2 separate regions of the Homo sapiens genome follow, and region 2 is linked to region 1. Evidence: promoter capture Hi-C in 16 types of primary human blood cells and fetal thymus (Javierre and others, 2016). All regions are on one chromosome and are shown on one strand. The core of a region is centred on a gene start or on the middle of the fragment in contact, and the rest is flanking DNA. Distances in the headings are between cores, read along the strand shown. Region 1 holds the start of GABARAPL1 (GABA type A receptor associated protein like 1). Region 2 has its middle 52 kb from the start of LINC01252.

What was found. Contacts are between HindIII fragments. The CHiCAGO score rates a contact against its expected background, and 5 or more counts as called.
Region 2: a fragment that was not itself captured here is called in contact with the fragment with the promoter of GABARAPL1 in region 1 in 4 of 17 cell types (naive B cells, total B cells, total CD4 T cells and 1 more); the score reaches 8.0 in naive B cells.

What each region holds. Positions count from the first base shown.
Region 1 is chr12:10,211,385-10,214,644 of GRCh38, forward strand. It overlaps GABARAPL1 (GABA type A receptor associated protein like 1), which reads left to right and starts at 1,493. Exons shown (of 4, transcript NM_031412.4): 1 at 1,493-1,835. The coding sequence starts at 1,746. It overlaps GABARAPL1-AS1 (GABARAPL1 antisense RNA 1), which reads right to left. Exons shown (of 3, transcript NR_170310.1): 1 at 3,258-3,260; 2 at 2,670-2,985; 3 at 2,265-2,578. RefSeq lists an enhancer at 730-1,272 and a silencer at 1,366-1,625. The HindIII fragment of the contact is 15,130 bases long and covers 1-3,260 here.
Region 2 is chr12:11,494,335-11,497,594 of GRCh38, forward strand. No RefSeq gene overlaps it. Among named protein-coding and RNA genes, the nearest start is that of LINC01252, 52 kb to the right of the region's middle. The HindIII fragment of the contact is 956 bases long and covers 1,248-2,203 here.

The sequences.
Region 1 (3,260 bases), core at 243-2,742:
TTGTTTTTTCTGTAGAGACAGGGTTTTGCCATGTTACCCAGGCTGGTCTTGAACTCCTGAGCTCAAGCGATCCTCGGCCTGGGCCTCCCAAAGTGCTGGGAGAACAGACGTGAGCCACCGCGCCTGGCCCCCTGTGGGTGTTTTTAAAATTAGAGACACTGAGACCCCGACTGAAGAAGATAGGCCACGGGGCTGCTGTTATCTAATATTTATCAGAACTCACCCGACTTGTATGGGCAACGCAGCCCCTTTTCACTGTTCTTTTTCTTTGCAAACTCCACAGTCCTCCCTGTCGCTGCCCTACAGTACTGGTTGGAAGGTCTTTCTTCTTTGACTCTAGGTGGGGAAATCCAGAACGAGGCTTCGCCTCACCTGCCCTAATGCCCAATCTTCTACTAGCATTCCAGGCAGCGCTTTCTAGTCACGTGAGGGATACCTAACCACTGGAACTAAATAAGATGTGGGGGAACAACTGAGGTCATCACCTAAATTGCTTGATACTCTCTTTTCCAGAAGACGAGCCCCCTTTCTGAGTTTATGGCAGAAAGTGAATCCCTCCCTCCCTCCCTTCCTTTCTTTTTCTGTAAGACGGTGTTTCGCTCTTGTTGCCCAGGCTGGAGTGCGACGCCGTGATCTCCGCTCGCCGCAACCTCCGCCTCCCGGGTTAGAGCGGTTCTCCTGCCTCAGCCTCCAGAGTAGCTGGGATTACAGCCATGCGCCACCACGCCCAGCTAATTTTGTATTTTTAGTAGAGACAGGGTTTCTCCATGTTGGTCAGGCTGGTCTCGAACTCCTGACCTCAGGTGATCCGCCCGCCTCGGCCTCCTGGGATTACAGGCGTGAGCCACCGCGCCCGGCTAGAAAGTGAATCATTTCTATATTTGATTGTACGTGAAGCCCTCGGTAGTCCTTACTGACATCATGTCTCCTTTAGACTTTGATTACACTCCGTGTCCTTCATCTGACTCCTCTCTTCAGATTCCTGAGTCACGCTCTGTTTATGTTGCTGTTCAGGAGCGAACTGCGGCACCGCCCAAACACTGTGACGCCAGCGCGGGAGGAGGGCCGCGGGAGGGGCAGCGGAACGCGCAGAGGGCACGGTGCAAGCACGGGACAGCTCTGCATTGGCCAAAGGGATCCCAGGAGGCCTGGCCCTCTTTTCTCCTGAGGCTGGATCCCAACCAGCAGGAAAAGGCTGGATTTTCGCCTTTTGTATTTGTTTTGGGGCCCAACCAAGAAAAACAGTGGAGGGGGAATAAAACATGTTTAAATCTTTTTTTTGTCTTAAAACCATCTTTAATTTCACAGTCACAAAATAAAACATAACTCGAATGTTTTGATGTTTGCAGTGACATCGATTGTGAAAAAGGTTAGCCAGAAAGGAAACGCAGTGAGACAGAGCGCTCGGCCACCCCCTGCCCTGGGCGCCTGGCGCATGGGGGGCGGGGCGGGGCTCGCGGGGTGACGTCACAGCCCGACGCGCCACCCAGCTGTTTTTGTGCTCCCAGCTCTAGCGAAAAGCCGCCGGTATTTCTCCATCTGGCTCTCCTCTACCTCCAGGCAGGCTCACCCGAGATCCCCGCCCCGAACCCCCCCTGCACACTCGGCCCAGCGCTGTTGCCCCCGGAGCGGACGTTTCTGCAGCTATTCTGAGCACACCTTGACGTCGGCTGAGGGAGCGGGACAGGGTCAGCGGCGAAGGAGGCAGGCCCCGCGCGGGGATCTCGGAAGCCCTGCGGTGCATCATGAAGTTCCAGTACAAGGAGGACCATCCCTTTGAGTATCGGAAAAAGGAAGGAGAAAAGATCCGGAAGAAATATCCGGACAGGGTCCCCGTGAGTGTAGAGGAGCGGAGGGGATGGGAGGGGAAGGGCCCGCGGGGGCGGGGGCGGGTAGTCGAGATGGCTTCCCTGGGGCGCCCAGGCGGCTCTGGAGAAGGGAGGTTCCGAGAATTACTTAATCCTGAACGCCCTTCAGTGCCAGAGCCAATGGACGTCCAGACTGTAGAGCTTTTAAAACCCCGTATGCCTGGGCCCCGAACCCCACTTCAGGGCTGACGGCGTTTTGGGGGCCGAGCCGCCGTCTTCAGTGACTCAGCAACCCACACACGGTCTCAGCAGCTGAGACCGTGTGTGGGTTGCGGTGCACAAAATAGGGCCCCTGTGGGCGAGACTGGTTAGATCGGGGCCATGGATTGGCTGCCTTTAAGAACGCAGGGACATTGTGCTGTGCGGTGAGGTTTGCGCAAACCCAGTCGATTTCTGCCTTGGCTGGTTCTCCTTTAATGAAGTTGACTTTGGCTCTCATATCATTGGTCTTGGGACGAAAAGGTTCAGAAGCTATTCAGTAATTTTCTTGCATTACAGGGGGTTAGGGGAGCACAAGACAGTCCTGGCCTGGAAAACAAGGTCACGTTCTCTGCCCAACAGCCCTCTTGCCTCATCGTTCTAGGCTCCGGGGCTTGTGTGGGGACAGCCAGCCTCCTCGTGTTGATTTCTGATCACCTGGTACCTGGTCGCGATAAGGCAGGACTGAGACGTTTTTTCTCCGTTTTGGACACCGGCTTAAGTAGTTAAAACTACCGCAGGCAGTGAGTAGGAACAGAAAAGTATTAGGTATCTTTCAGCATCCGGGCGTTTTCCCCATTACCCCCTCCCCCGCCCACTTGCCTGGTGTTTCTCTAATGCAGGCTGCGCAGCCGAATTGGAGGGCAGAATATGGCTTAAGTGGTAGGGGGACCAGCAGCTGTTGGATTTTGGAAATGGAGGAGCGGAGATTTTAAAATTGTGCTCTTTATCTTCAGGTAGGAACATTAGTATTACGTGTCACATAATGGTAAAATAATTGCTGTTATCTGATGTCTTTTCTTGACTCACAGCCACTCTGGGTTTCTTCTCTAATCCTTACCTAACGTTCGTGGTTTTATAGCTACCAGAAGCCACCAGGGCCTTAGCCCAGCAGTAGAAACCTCTTGTAACCCTTTTCCTTTAAAAAGAAAAAAAAGTCATTAGGGCTCTTCATTCCCCAGGAATTACAAAAAGGTTTTCAGCTTATAGAGGGGTGAGCTAATCCCTTACTCGGGAAAGGATCCTTTACAAATTACTTTCCTGGTTTCTGGACCTTGGATACCTGAAAATTTTGCCCAGTTCTGGTGATACCAATCTTTTGAGCAATGATATTTAAAAAATACAATCAAGTTTTATTGATAGTTTACCCTAGCGGTATTATAAGTACTCAGTCTGTAATCATTGACTTACTTC
Region 2 (3,260 bases), core at 476-2,975, 1.3 Mb after region 1:
AGTTTTATAGGACTGTGGCAGTGAGGTAGAAGTGAATCAAGTTGAGAAACGTTTAGGAAGTAAAATGGATGGAACTTGATGATAGATTCAATATAATGCATGAGAGAAAGGGAGAGAGTCATGTTGAGGATGACTCAACGGTTTCCAGCTTCATAGCTTTATGGATAATGATACCGTTGCTGAGCAAAGGAACACTGGAAAAGAACCATATTCTACATATCCACCAATTTCATTATTTCGTACATAGCATTAATATATCTCCCTTGTATTATAGTTATTTATAGGCATATAGGTTTCTGATATCAAGGCTTTTCAGAGGTTTGCAAAGTAAGGCCCACGGGTCAAATTAAGACCTGTTTGGCCCATAGCTAAGAATTGTCTTTACATTTTTAAGGTTGTTAAAAGAAAAAAAACAAAGATAAATATGTGACATAGACTGTATGTGGTCAGCAAAGTCTAAAATGTCTGCTCCCTGACTCTTTATTTAAAAAGTCTGGGGATCCCTGCTTTCTATGGTTCATTTTGTTTTATTAGATAATGAACACATGCTAATAAAGTTGAATTTAATACTTAAAAACAAGATATCTTCCAAGGAATTTAAAATTGTAAAATTAATACATAGGAAGCATAAGTTTCATGTGTATAGCATATAGAAAAATGCATAATTTTGAAGTTCAGAAAATGAAAAAAATTTGTTCTTAGTCAACAAAAATTCATAAAGAAAAAGAGTTTGTAAAAATGTGAAGGTTCACCTTGGATGAACACGTTGGAAGTAATTCAAGCATTATTGAATTTTTGTATTGAGATGAATGTGTTTTTAATCTTTCAAAATTATATATTATGGATGATAAATTATTTTCTCCTAAACACCAAGTTTTATTGCTTATAGTTTCTCAGTTTCACCTTTACTTTTTTAATGATAACTAGAATATCATTAACACAGAATGTTAATGAGTGAACCATGGCTCAACAGTTTAGTCAATGTGAAGCCAAATTCCAATGCCTCATTTATGATTGCACTTGTATAGAACCCAATAATTTTTTGATGTAAAACTATTGCTTCACCTTATCTACAGACCCCCACCACAGTCCACTTTGTGCCATGTTCTGTAGCTTGTACCTAGAATTAAGGTTTGGATATTTTTGCTGCTGGCTGCCTTTGGTAATTAATTTTATTTCGTCTAGTTTTCTTAAGAGGCAAGGTTACAGGAATTGCCATGTAAATGAATATGCAAGTTAGTAACTTAAGCTTATAGCCAATGCACTATATTTTTAATAGGATAGTAGCTGGATTGATCTGTTTTGCATACAGGTGGTTTTATACAAAGCATATTAGGCATGGGGGAAGGAGCAAAAAAGGAGGGAGAAAGACAGAGACTCTGTCCTGTCCCCTCCATCCAATGAACCAAACTTTAAACACTTAGTTTACGGCAGACTTCCTTTATGATGCATTTTCTTATCCCTCCCTTATCTGTTTTTGAGTTTAGTGTTAACTGTTTTTTTTTAATACCCCACCATATGTTGTTCAAATGTCTATCTATACAACTGTCACACTTCAGGACAGTTGGTCCACATTTCTACTCCTGCCTGCTAGACTGAAGACTCCTTAGGGAAAAGACTGCACCTCCTCTATCTTTCTAGTCCCCTTACCTAATACAGTGCCTACCACGAAGCAGGTAGGTTTGTAAGATGAAGGAATCCATGGATAGTTTGTAATTCTTGGGAGATGACAATGCCTAGTGGGAGTGGCCAGAAGGATTCTTTAAGGATGAAAAAGAATGAAGAGTAATAAGGGGAGGCTGAATGTTGGATGTTCTGGGAGTCACTCCTTCTCCTCTGTGGTTTCTGACCATTGAGAGATCAAATGGGGATGACAGCAGAGATGGCTAAGTTGTCCCCACTATCTATTCTCTCCTTCTTCCAAGGTGATGGAGTCCTCAAATTTTGCCTAAATACATGACTACCCACAAATGAGACTTCAATTCCCAGCATCTCTTGCAGGTGGGTGTGGTCATGTGACTGACATCTGGCCAATGGGATGTAGGCATGTGCTCAATGGCAGTTTCTAGGCCATTGCTTCCTTTTCTCTCCTCATCCTCCAACCTCGATTAAAAGGTCAAGGGCTACATCCAAGGAATGGTGGGGCAGAAAGGAGGAAGGAGCCTGGTATCCCAAGGACTTCATAGGGCAGAGCTGATACACAAGCTTCATAATACAAAATCTGGACTATTGCCTGAGAAAGAAATTAATATTTTTTCATCCTTTCTCTCTTTTCTTTTTCTTTCTTTCTTTCTTTTCCTTCTTTCTTTCCCTCTCTCTTTCTTTCTTTCCCTCTCTCTTTCTTTCTTTTCTTCTTTGTCTTCTTTTCCTTTCTTTTCTTTCTTTCTACCAGCTTTTCCTAGCTTTTTATTGTGGTAAAATAGACCTAACCTAAAATTTACCATCAAAACCATTTTTAAGCATACAGCTCAGTGGCATTCGCACATTTACACTGCTGTGCAGCCGTCACCACCAGCCATTTCCAGGACTTTGCCATCATCCCAACCTGAAACTCTACCCATGAAACACAAGCTGCCCAACTCCCACCTTGTTTCCCCATCCCTGGCGGCCACTGCTTCTGCTGCTATGAACTGGACTGTTCTAGGCACCTCACATAAGTGGACTCACACAATATCTGTCCTTTCATGTCTAGCTTCTCTATTTAATTTTTTTTAATAAAACCTTTTAAGAGACAGGGGTCTCATTATTTTGCCCAGGCTGGTCATGAACTCCTGGCCTCTGGTGATCCTCCCACGTCATCATGACTGACTTCTCTATTTAATTTTTTTTTCTTTTTTTTTTTAAGATGGAGCGTTGCTCTGTCACCCAGGCTGGAGTGCAGTGGTGCAATCTCGGCTCTCTGCAACCTCCACCTCCCAGCTTTCAAGCAATTCTGCCTCAGCCTCCCGAGTAGCTGGGAATACATGTGCATGCTACCACGCCCAGCTAATTTTTTGTATTTTTAGTAGAGACAGGGTTTCACCATATTAGCCAGGATGGTCTTGATCTCTCGACCTTGTGATCCGCCCACCTCGACCTCCCAAAGTGCTGGGATTACAGGCGTGAGTCACTGTGCCTGGCCTCTATTTATTTTTTAAAGGTGGGTGGGAACTAAGTGGACCATAGAGGAGCTTCCCGCACAGGTAAAGACAAGGTCGGGTGTACTGAGAGACGCAGGAAAGTGGGTCAGGGTGTAGGGCTGGAGGGCAGCTATGGCCTCT